Linked DNA regions of Homo sapiens: region 1 is linked to region 2. The links are contacts of gene promoters, found by promoter capture Hi-C in blood cells and fetal thymus (Javierre and others, 2016). All regions are on one chromosome and are shown on one strand. The core of a region is centred on a gene start or on the middle of the fragment in contact, and the rest is flanking DNA. Distances in the headings are between cores, read along the strand shown. Region 1 overlaps KIF1C (kinesin family member 1C). Region 2 holds the start of PELP1 (proline, glutamate and leucine rich protein 1).

Region 1 (4,131 bases), core at 1-2,500, 310 kb after region 2:
AGCGTGCCTGCTCAGTGGCTGTCTTGCCTCCACCTGCCAGTTTGGTTAGGGCGAGACAACCTTGTTTACTGGGGCAGGAGAGTTGGGAAACATAGACCCCCTCATTCTTAGACCCTGATGCCATTGCCTTGGCCTCCCTTGGTGGGGCCTTCCCTGGGGGCGGGAGAAGGGAAACACGGCCTGGTCTGTGCGGTTGAGGGCTGGGCAGCTAAGGGCATGTGGCTCCTTGGGCTGGTATTATGAAGTCATGGGGGCTCGGTGCCTCCCCTAAAGGGGTGAGGGTGCCCTTCCCCTCCCACCACAGGCATTCGTGGCTGTCCTTGGTAGTCATCTTGGGTAGGGAGTGAGCTCTCAGGATCATCAACCTAAGGATGGGTGGAGGCCTGTGGCTGAGGGTGCCCGTTTCTCCCAGGTTTGCTTGTACCCAGGTAGCATGTACCCAGTGGCCCGGGGGGCAGCCTCTGCTTTTGGGGTATGGCTGCTGAGGGTTAGCCACATTGGTGCCTCCCTTCCCTGGTGGTCCCTGGAGATAACTCAGATCTCTAAACAGCTGCCTCCACAGCCCTGCATGCTCTCCCAGCTTCAAGAGAAGTTGGCGAGCCTGCTGTATAACATGGTGACTAAGAGCATGGCTTCAGAGTCAGGCAGACCTGGGCTCAGATCCCAGCATCACTTCACTGCCCACTGAATGAACCCGGGCAAGCCATTTCACCTCCCTGAGCCTCTGCTTCCTCATCTGTGAAATGGGAATAATTGGCTTGGTTCATTGAGTTGGATAAACTGGTGTTCAGGAGGGGCTTGGTTAAAGTCTGGCACATGCTCACAAACGTTGGCCATTGCTTCCCCAGGGTCGGCCAAGTAGATATGGACATCAAGCTGACCGGACAGTTCATTCGGGAGCAACACTGTCTGTTCCGGAGCATCCCCCAGCCAGATGGAGAAGGTAATGGCTGAGGGGGTGAGAGAGGCCAGACAGGGAGAGAGGCCCCATGTTCCACCCCACACACTGAACTCAGAGGTCTGGGTTGGGCACCAGGGAGTGCAGCCATATAAAGAGGGGATGTGGCCTTGTCCTCAGAGGGGCTTGGGGCTCATGGGTATGAATGGAGGAATACCACAGGCCCAGCCCTCTGCACCCACCCTGAGAAGACAGACTACTGTGTGGTCAGGCACTGGCGAGGGTTCTAAGGTAGAAATGGGACACTAGTGAGCCAGAGTGTGGGATTTTGCTGAAGAGAAGATCCTGCCCTTCTTGATCTTGTTCACCACAACTAGCACTCTGATCCTTTTTAAACAAAAACCTGTATTTGAATATCGGAACTTGTCCCTGTGGAAAACCTGCCTCTATCCAGCTATGACTGCCGAGATTTCTTTTTCTTTTTCTTTTTCTTTTTCTTTTTTTTTTGAGACGGAGTGTTCGCTCTTGTCGCCCAGGCTGGAGTGCAATGGCGCGATCTGGGCTCACTGCAGCCTCAACCTCCCGGGTTCAAGCAATTCTCCTGCCTCAGCCTCCCGAGTAGCCGGGATTACAAGCATGTGCCACCATGCCTGGCTAATTTTGTGTTTTTAGTAGAGACGGGGTTTCTCCCATGTTGGTCAGGCTGGTCTCGAACTCCTGACCTCAGGTGATCCGCCTGCCTCGGCCTTCCGAAGTGCTGGGATTACAGGCGTGAGCCACTGCCCCCAGCTTTTTTTTTTTTTTTTTTTTTTTTTTATCATTTGAGACGGAGTCTCACTGTTTCCCCCAGGCTGGAGTGCAGTGGCATGATCTTGGCTCACTGCAGCCCCCACCTCCCAGGTTCAAGTGATTCTCTTGCCTCAACCCCGAGTAGCTGGGATTACAGGCACGCGCCACCACACCAGGCTAATTTTTGTATTTTTAGTAGAGACGGGGTTTCACCATGTTGGTCAGACTGGTCTTGAACTCCTGATCTCATGTGATCCGCCCACCTTGGCCTCCCAAAGCACTGGGATTACAGGCGTGAGCCACTGCACCTGCTGAGGTGTATTTTTGAGGCCACCAGTTTGTTTTAGTTCTAACACTTAAAAAAAAATAGAATGATTTGGGTTCACATAAGCTCAAGCAAAGTCTCTGTGAAAATGAGTTGGGCAGGGAGGAAGGACGTGGTACACATGTGCTGTCTGTCAGCTTGGACCTGGTGTGTGTGTTGTGCCTCAGAGACCTAGGAGTGCTTGGCCTAACACCTTCCAGGGGACAAGGGACCTGGGGTGTGTATGGTCAGCACTTTTTTTTTTTTTTTGAGATGGAGTCTCGCTGTGTCGTCCAGGCTGGAGTGCAGTGGTGCGATCTCGACTCACTGCAACCTCTGCCTCCCGGGTTCAAGTAATTCTCCTGCCTCAGCCTCCCGAGTAGCTGGGACTACAGGTGTGCGCCACCACACCCGGCTAATTTTGTATTTTTAGTAGAAACAGGGTTTCTCCAACTCCCAACCTCAGGTGATCCTCCTGCCTTGACCTCCCAAGGTGCTGGGATTACAGGCTTGAGCCACCACACCCAGCCCTAATTTTTGTATTTTTAGTAGAGACAGGGTTTCACCATGTTGGTCAGGCTAGTCTTGAACTCCTGACCTTGTGATCCACCTGCCTCGGCCTCCCAAAGTGCCAGGATTACAGGCGTGAGCCACCGCACCCGGCCAGCACATTTTAAAAAATAACAAAAGACGCTATCATGTGCGTCTTACAGTGAGGTTTAAGACATACCTCTTGGGGCTGGTGGGGTGGCTCATGCCTGTAATCTTAGCACTTTGGGAGGCCGAGGTGGGTGGATCACTTGAGGTCAGGAGTTTGAAACCAGCCTGGCCAACATGGTGGAACCCCGTCTCTACTAAAAGTACAAAAAAATTAGCTGGGCATGGTGGCGAACGCTTGTAATCCCAGCTACTTAGGAGGCTGAGACAGGAGAATTGCTTGAACCTGGGAAGTGGAGGTTTCAGTGAGCTGAGATTGCGCCACTGCACTCCAGCCTGGGTGACAGAGTGAGACTGTTTCAAAAAAAAAAAAAAAAAGACATGCCTCTTCGGTTTCCATATGGTTCAGGGTCAGCCAATCAAGGCAGTTGTTCTGGTCTGGTTCAAGTCCTCAGTGACAGCAAATGCTTCCGGCATTTTGGGTTGAAAGCTGTTGAATCAGTTCAGCCCAGTGAGTTATTGCCAAGTTCCTGTTCTGCGGCAACCTCAAGCCATTTGCTGGGGGAGATATGAAAGCCATACAGGCCACCAAAAATACACCTCAGCAGAGCCAGCCCATGGGCAAGGAGCTACAGTGCGGAGAGATGACACCCGTGTGCAAGACTGACATAGGTCACAGTAAAGGCAGCCAATGATTCTGTGTTGCCAAGGGTGGGGATTGTGATGGTTTAGTCCCTGTGGGCCTTGGTTCTTTTTTTTTTTTTTTTTTTTTTTTGAGACGGAGTCTCGCTCTGTCGCCCAGGCTCGAGTGCAGTGGCGCGATCTCGGCTCACTGCAAGCTCTGCCTCCCGGGTTCACGCCATTCTCCTGCCTCAGTCTCCTGAGTAGCTGGGACTACAGGCGCCCCCCCACCACCACACCCGGCTCATTTTTTTGTATTTTTAGTAGAGACGGGGTTTCGCCGTGTTAGCCAGGATGGTCTCAATCTCCTGACCTCATGATCCACCCGCCTCGGCCTCCCAAAGTGCTGGGATTATAGGCGTGAGCCACGCGCCCAGCCTGGGCCTCAGTTCTTAACAGCAGATTTAAGACCTGGCCAGAAACAGGCAGAGAGGACGGGGGCAGCACAGACAGGTATGGATGTAGAAGAATGGTTTTTACTGACCATCTACTCTGTGCGTCCGCATTTTCTCACACAGCTCACAGGTGAGAGAACTGAGGCTCTCGGGGGTTAGGTGATTTGCAAAAGATGACACAAAATGGCAGAACTGGATTCAGACACAGGATGGCAGGCACCAGGGGCTGTGCTGTGAGCTCTGCCCTAGACTGTCAGATTATCATGGGTTCAGGGTAAGGCTGCCTGGGCCAAGCTGGAGCAGTCTTCTCACCCAGCCCCACTTTCCCTGCATAACACGTATTCCCTCCTTTTTTATTTTCATTTTCATTTTTATTTTTTGAGACAGGGTCTTGCCCTGTCACCCAG
Region 2 (6,849 bases), core at 3,209-5,708:
CAGGCTCAAGCAATTCTCCTGCCTCAGTCTCCTGATTAGCTGGGATTACAGGCATGCGTCACCACGCCCAGCTAATTTTTGCATTTTTAGTAAAGATGAGGTTTCGCCATGTTGGTCAGGCTGGTCTCGAACTCCTGGCATCAAATGATCTACCCATCTCAGCCTCCCAAAGTGCTGGGATTACAGATGTGAGTCACTGCACCCAGCCCTAGAGGGTGATTTTTTTTTTTTTTTTTTTTTTTGAGACAGAGTTTCACTCTATCACCCAGGCTAGAGTGCAGAGGCGCGATCTCGGCTCACTGCAACCTCTGCCCCGAGTTCAAGCGATTCTCCTGCCTCAGCCTCCTGAATGGCTGGGATTACAGGATTACAGATGCCTGCCACTGCGCCTGGCTAATTTTTGTATTTTTAATACAGACGGGGTCACCATCTTGGCCAGGCTGGTCTTAAACTCCTGACCTTGTGATCCACCCACCTTGGCCTCCCAAAGTGCTGGGATTACAGGCGTGAGCCATCACGCCTGGCCGAGGATGAAGTTTTGAGCCTGTATGCTGATGAAAATGATCCAACAAAAAGAGAGGCCAGGTGCAGTGGCTCATCCCTGTAATCCCAACATTTTGGGAGGCTGAGGCAGGAAGATTTTTTTATTTAAGTAGGAGTACACTCTAAAATACGACAAAAAGTGGCCGGATGTGGTGGCTCATGCCTGTATTCTCAGCACTTTGGGAGGTCGAGTGGGGAGGATAACTTGAGGTCAGAAGTTCGAGACCAGCCTGACCAACATGGTGAAACTCCGTCTCTACTAAAAATACAAAATTAGCTGGGTATGGTGGCAGGTGCCTGTAATCCCAGCTACTCAGGAGGCTGAGGCCTACGTAGAAGACAGAACAAGACACTGTTTTTGTCCTTCAAAAGAATATACAGGATAAATGACATTTGGGATTTGCTTTAAAATGGTCCACCAAGCTGAGCACGGTGGTTCACCTCTGTAATCCCAGGATTTTGGGGGGCCAAGGCGGGAGTATCACTTGAGTTCAGGAGTTCAAGACCAGCCTGGACAACATATAAAGCCCCCATGTCTACAAAAAAAATTTTTAAATTAGCCAGGGGTGGTGGCACACCTGTAGTCCCAGCTACTCGGGAGGCTGAGGTGGAAGGATTACTTGAACCTGGGAGGTTGAGGCCAAGGCCGCAGTGAGCCATAATCTGGCCACTGCACTCCAGCCTGAGTTAGAGTAAGGCCCTATCTCAAAAAAAAAAAAAAGAAAAGAAAAGAAAAGAAAAAGAGAAAGAAAGAAAAAGCAAAGTTCCACTAAAAAAAAAAAAAAAAAAAAAAAGCCAAGCTATGGGAGGAATGAAATAACATTGGCAAACGTTCACTGTTAAATTTGAGTGATGGGGGCAGCATAGGGTGGGGTGGGGAAAATACTATTTATGTCTGAAATTTTATATAAGTTTTATTAATTACATACAAGAACAAATCAAAGACTTGCTGAATGTAGGGGAGAGAGGTTATAAGTATATGTGAAATAAATAAACAGACAGTAGGATAAAGAGCAGTCAATCATAGGTGGCCAAGAAATATATCCCAAAGGCAGTGACAAATAAGCAAAGAATTGAGAAGACTGGGAAGGAGGATGAGAGTTGGGGGGGTGGGGGCACTGCACAGGGAGGGATTCCAAGAGAAGAGTAAGTACAAAGCCTCTGAGGAAAGAACACCCAGAGGCTGAAGGATTTTTAAAAGCTGCAAACAGGATCAGAATTTTACTTTAGAAAGCTCACTCCAGCTACTGTGTGGGGAACGGATTACAGAGGGCAAGACTGAAGGTAAGGAGACCCGTTAGAAGATTGTTGCTATAATATACTCCAAGCTAGATATGGAGCACTGTGCTAGGATCATTCCATTTTGGAACTACTGAGCTTGCAGTACCTGCGGAAAAGCCATGTTGGTAGGTGGATGATCAAACAGTGGATCCCCCTTGCTCGCAAGCTCCAGGTCTATTGCTGACTTTCATTTCTCATCTTAACTAGACTAGAAATTCTCTGAGGGAAAGGACCATGTCTTATTTATCTACCTAGAGACGAGGAACAGTACGTAAAACATAACAGATACTCAATAAATGTTTGTTGAATGAAACCTTTGGGGAAGGAAAGGAAATCCTCCACATAATCCCAATTCAAAGGACACAAGTAGAAAAAAAATTCAAGGCAGGATGTATCTAAACAAGTAGCACAGGAAATATTAAAGGGCGGCCCTAGTTTCCCACATCACTCTTAGCTTCTTTACTCAAAATTCTACTAGACTTCAGACATGTAAGAAAAATAAGCAAGACGTTAAGTTCATGTAGTTGACTTTGAGGGAGGAGAGGAAGTCCTGAAAGAGATGATGAAAGAAATCACACATTTATAGGCGGGATAGGTAATATTTCACAAATACTTATAAAAAAAATTTCTGGGGGGCAAGGCATGGTGGCCCGTGCCTGTAATTCCAGCACTTTGGGAAGCCAAGGCAAGTGAATCGCCTGAACTCGGGACTTTGAGACCAGCCTGGGCAACATGGCAAAACCCCGTCTCTACCAAAAATACAAAAATTAGCCGGGCATGGTGGCGCATGCCTGTGGTCCCAGCTACTCTGGAGGCTGAGGTGGGAGGATCCCTTGAGGCTGGGAAATGGAGGTTGCAGTGAGCCAAGATCATGCCACTGCACTCCAACCTGGGTGACAGAGTAAGACCTTGTCTCAAAAATAATAATAATTCTGGGACTATTGTGAGATAAAGAAAACAGAAAAACCCCACTGTAATATAACTGACTGATGAAAACCACATAAATTAGAAGAGGGGAATTTAGAGACAAGAGAAAATACATAATCAGCTCCAGCCTCTGATATTGGGCTGAGATAGCAGAGATATAGTTTTGTCACCCTCAATTATGCAGAGTAATGTTAAAGACAAACAGATAGGGTTATCTGTGATAAATCTGGGGCTAAGGTTATTGACCCACCCAGCAAATTGTGACAACCATCTTCCTGGAAGGTAGCATAGAGCTAGGAAGGTCCCAGGAATGAAGGGTGGACACAGAAGATCTCGTGTTTATGGGTCTTGAAGGATGGGTAGAATTTGGGGGAGGTTTAGTGGGAGAGAAGGGAAGATAGGAGATTGTTATAAGGAGCAGCTATTATGGGCTAGAAATATGCCTTCTTAGAATCAGTGCCTTCACCCGGACAAGATGGTGGGGGTTCAAGCTAGAATGGGAGCAATGAGAAAGATGGAAAAGAGTGGACAGATCTGAAAACTACTCAAAGGATAAAATCAACAGGACTTGACAGATTGCTTATGGAGGTGTATGAAGAAGAGTTTAGAATTACTTGAGTGTCTAGCTTGCAGAACTGAATGGTTATCAGATTCCATTCTTATAGAAGTCCAAAGGCTCCTAACCCGGCCTAAAACGCTCTGCATGACCCGACCACTGCCTACCCATCTCACCAGTCTCATCTGTACCCACTCTCTTCCCCTCCACATCTGAGCCCCAGGAACGATGCCCTTCTTTCCAGTTCCTTCCTACCACAGGGTCTTCCCACATGAGCTCTCCTCTGACTGAACAGCCCCTCCCATATTTTTTCCCTACCCAACCCCTATTCATCCTTAGGGTCTCAGCTTAAACGCCGGTTTCTTTGGAAAAATCTCTGCCAGTCTTCAGATAAGGTTAGAGACCCCTGATATTCAATTCTCATCTTGTTTCGCAGCATTTTGTGTATCGCCACCACGTCTGTAACCGGAGCGCCTAGTACAGTATCTGACCCTCAATAAGAGCTCGGTAAATGTTTATTGTTGAATGCGTCATTCAGTCAGTCGAAACAATCCCCGAAACAGATATTGCCAGAGGAAAAAGAGACTTTTAGATTATACAACTAGTGAGTGACCGGGCCTGGAACCTAATCGATTCCTGTGTGCCGACCAATAGCCTAACAACAGAAAAATAAGGCCCATTTTTCCCCTGGAGAAACTCATGGCCGATAAAGGAGAAATACGTGCATCCCGTCCGGACTGATACCTGGATCCCCTTTCTGCCCGCAGCTCTCCTTCCTTCAACCTCCCTATCGCACTTGCACTGCACCGTAATCCCGGCGCACAGGTGCCGCGCCATCCTCCCCACAGGGCCGCGGGCACGCGGGCCACGGACTCACCTGGGCCCCGCCCACCGACCCATGCAGCCGCAATAGGCACATGAGCCCGGGCAAATGTGGGGCCGAGCGGTTTGGGGGATGCACCGGAGCAACGGCAGACCCCGTTCGAGGTTGCAGCAAACCAGAAACACTCTCCAGCAGCAGCAGGCGGAGCCGCGGGCCCGAGCTCACTGCCGAGAGACCCCCGGTCCCGCCAGGAACCCCAGCCGCGGAGCCCGCAGAGGGCCCACTCAGAACGGCTGCCGCCATCTTCCCCCGGGTTCCAGTGGTGGCGTGGCGCGATGACGCAAACACACCGCGACGGCCGCCTACTGGGGAGGGGGCGTGGGGAGGGGGCTGCGGTCTTGCGCACTGAGTGAAGGCAGGCTGGACTCGCGGGCTCAAGCTGGGAAGGAGCATGCGCGGAGAGAGCAGCCTGGGCGCCGAGGCAGCGGGGTGCTCGGTTCCCGGAGTGATGGCGGATGAGGCTGCCTGTGAGCGTGTCCGAGGCGGTCCTGTGATGTTAAAGGTACACGTGGTCCGGACAAAAGGCGCCAAAGTCGGAACGATTTCCATTTAGCGGACGGAGTCTTGGGACATCTTCGCTGTAGGAATCAATAACTCTCATTTTTTTTTTTTGAGACGGAGTCTCGCTCTGTGGCCCAGGCTGGAGTGCAGTGGCGCGATCTCGGCTCACCGCAACCTCCACCTTCCAGGTTCAAGCGATTTCCCTGCCTCAGCCTCCCGAGTAGATGGGATTACAGTCGCGCGCCACCACGCCCGGCTAATTTTTTTTGTATTTTTGTAGAGATGGGGTTTCACCATGTTGGCCAGGATGGTCTTGAACTCCTGACCTCAGGTGTTCCGCCCGCCTTGGCCTCCCAAAGTGCTGAGATTACAGGCATGAGCCACCGCACCCTGCCTAGGAATCAGTAACGTGTGTGTGTGTGTACGCGCGCCAAAGATTTATTTCTTCATTTCTTGCATTTCAAGTACTCTTCGATGTCATCCTTGGCCTGAGACTCCTTGCCATAGTCCTTAACTACTACACAACTGCAACCAACCACTTTACGGGGTTTCCCCTCTCTGTCGATTTTTACAGAGCCCTACCCATTCTCCTAGTTTCTTGTTGTCATCAACCTTAATTAGGTTGATTTGGTGTTCAGCACAAAGGCCTCCACCAACTTGACATACATAGTAGGCTCATCATAGTTGGATGCAAGCACACAAAGATGGGCTTGGCGTTTGTCTAAGGCTTTGGCAGCTTCGCGAATTCCACGTGCTAGGTCATGGTGGATGAGAGCGGTCTTCAGCACCTCTTGTGAAGCAGTATTAACATCCATTACCCCTCCAGCAGCAATGCCTTCCTCGGCCGTGGCGGTGGGTTACAAGTGAAGCTGAATCTTGAAGGTACCCAAGCCTCCGCCTCCGCGCAACTCGGCAGCGGCAGGGAAAGAGAAGGAATCAATAACTCTCTAGGTAACTTGAAATCACAGACATTTTTAACTACATTTGCAACTTCAGAAATGATACAAGACGTGCGCCTTGCAAAAGCCAATTCAAACAGTACAGAAAGGCATAAAGTAAAAAGAAAAACTGCTCCTCCCCCGCAAAGCCCTGCCCCAGTAGCGTGTATACTTTCCTAATATTAGTCTATGCACAAGCACATAAATGAATATTTTACAAGATTGGGGTCTGCGTGTGGCTTGTTTTCACTCATGGCCTTCTTTATGCTGTTTTTTAAACTGTGGTATGAATGAAATGGGTGCACCATGATTTAATAATTCTATTGCTGAATTAATGCTTAAAGGCTGCTCCAGCTTTTTGCTAATGCAAACTGTAGTGAACACGCTAATACCTCTATGTTTATGTTTGTGTACTTTTGTGATTGTTAGATTCAAATCCAAGAGTCATCATTTTTCTTTTTTTGAGGAGTCTCTCTGTCGCCCAGGCTAGAGTGCAATGGCACGATCTCGGCTCACTGCAACCTCCGCCTCCCAAGTTCAAGTGATTCTCCTACCTCAGCCTCCCAAGTAGCTGGAAGTACAGGCACCCACCACCATGCCCAGCTAATTTTTGTATTTTTAGTAGAGACGGGGCTTCACCATGTTGGCCAGGCTGGTCTCAAACTCCTGACCTCAAGTGATCTGCCGGCCTCAGCCTCCCAAAGTCCTGGGATTACAGGTGTGAGCCACCCCACCTGGCCCGTTTTTCCTCTTATTGCCTCCTATCCAATCCTTCAAGTCCTGGCATTCAAGGCCTCCAAAATACATTAACCCAATAGCGTTAATTTTTCTCCATCTCCACTGCCGCTCCGGTCCAAATTACCATTCACTCTCACCTAGTCTATTACAAAGCCTTCGTTGCTCTCTGCTTCCCTCTTAGCACCCTGTAGTCCCTTCACACAGCAACCAAAGTGGTCTTTTCAAATGTAAACAAGTTGTTGTCACTCCTAGCTTCAACCCCTCTGTGGCTTCCAAATGTGATGAGAATGAAATCCCATCTCGTCACTGAGGCCTAAAAGAATCCACCCAATCTGACTCATACCCACCTCCCTGACCTCAACACATACCACAAGTACCCTTTTCCTTCTCTCTTCCTATTCTTGAGCCACGCTAGCCTTCTATTTTCCAGCAAAGCCCATTCTCACATCCGAACCTTTGCACATGTTGCTGATTATGCTGGA

What was found. Contacts are between HindIII fragments. The CHiCAGO score rates a contact against its expected background, and 5 or more counts as called.
Region 1: a fragment that was not itself captured here is called in contact with the fragment with the promoter of PELP1 in region 2 in 1 of 17 cell types (neutrophils); the score reaches 6.1 in neutrophils.

What each region holds. Positions count from the first base shown.
Region 1 is chr17:5,013,895-5,018,025 of GRCh38, forward strand. KIF1C (kinesin family member 1C) reads left to right here. Exons shown (of 23, transcript NM_006612.6): 18 at 849-943. Among named protein-coding and RNA genes, the nearest start is that of KIF1C-AS1, 4.1 kb to the right of the region's middle. The HindIII fragment of the contact is 9,804 bases long and covers 1-4,131 here.
Region 2 is chr17:4,699,679-4,706,527 of GRCh38, forward strand. It overlaps PELP1 (proline, glutamate and leucine rich protein 1), which reads right to left and starts at 4,459. Exons shown (of 17, transcript NM_014389.3): 1 at 4,185-4,459. The coding sequence starts at 4,433. PELP1-DT (PELP1 divergent transcript) reads left to right here and starts at 4,552. Exons shown (of 2, transcript NR_103482.1): 1 at 4,552-4,692; 2 at 5,521-5,851. It also overlaps the pseudogene RPS12P29. The HindIII fragment of the contact is 30,411 bases long and covers 1-6,849 here.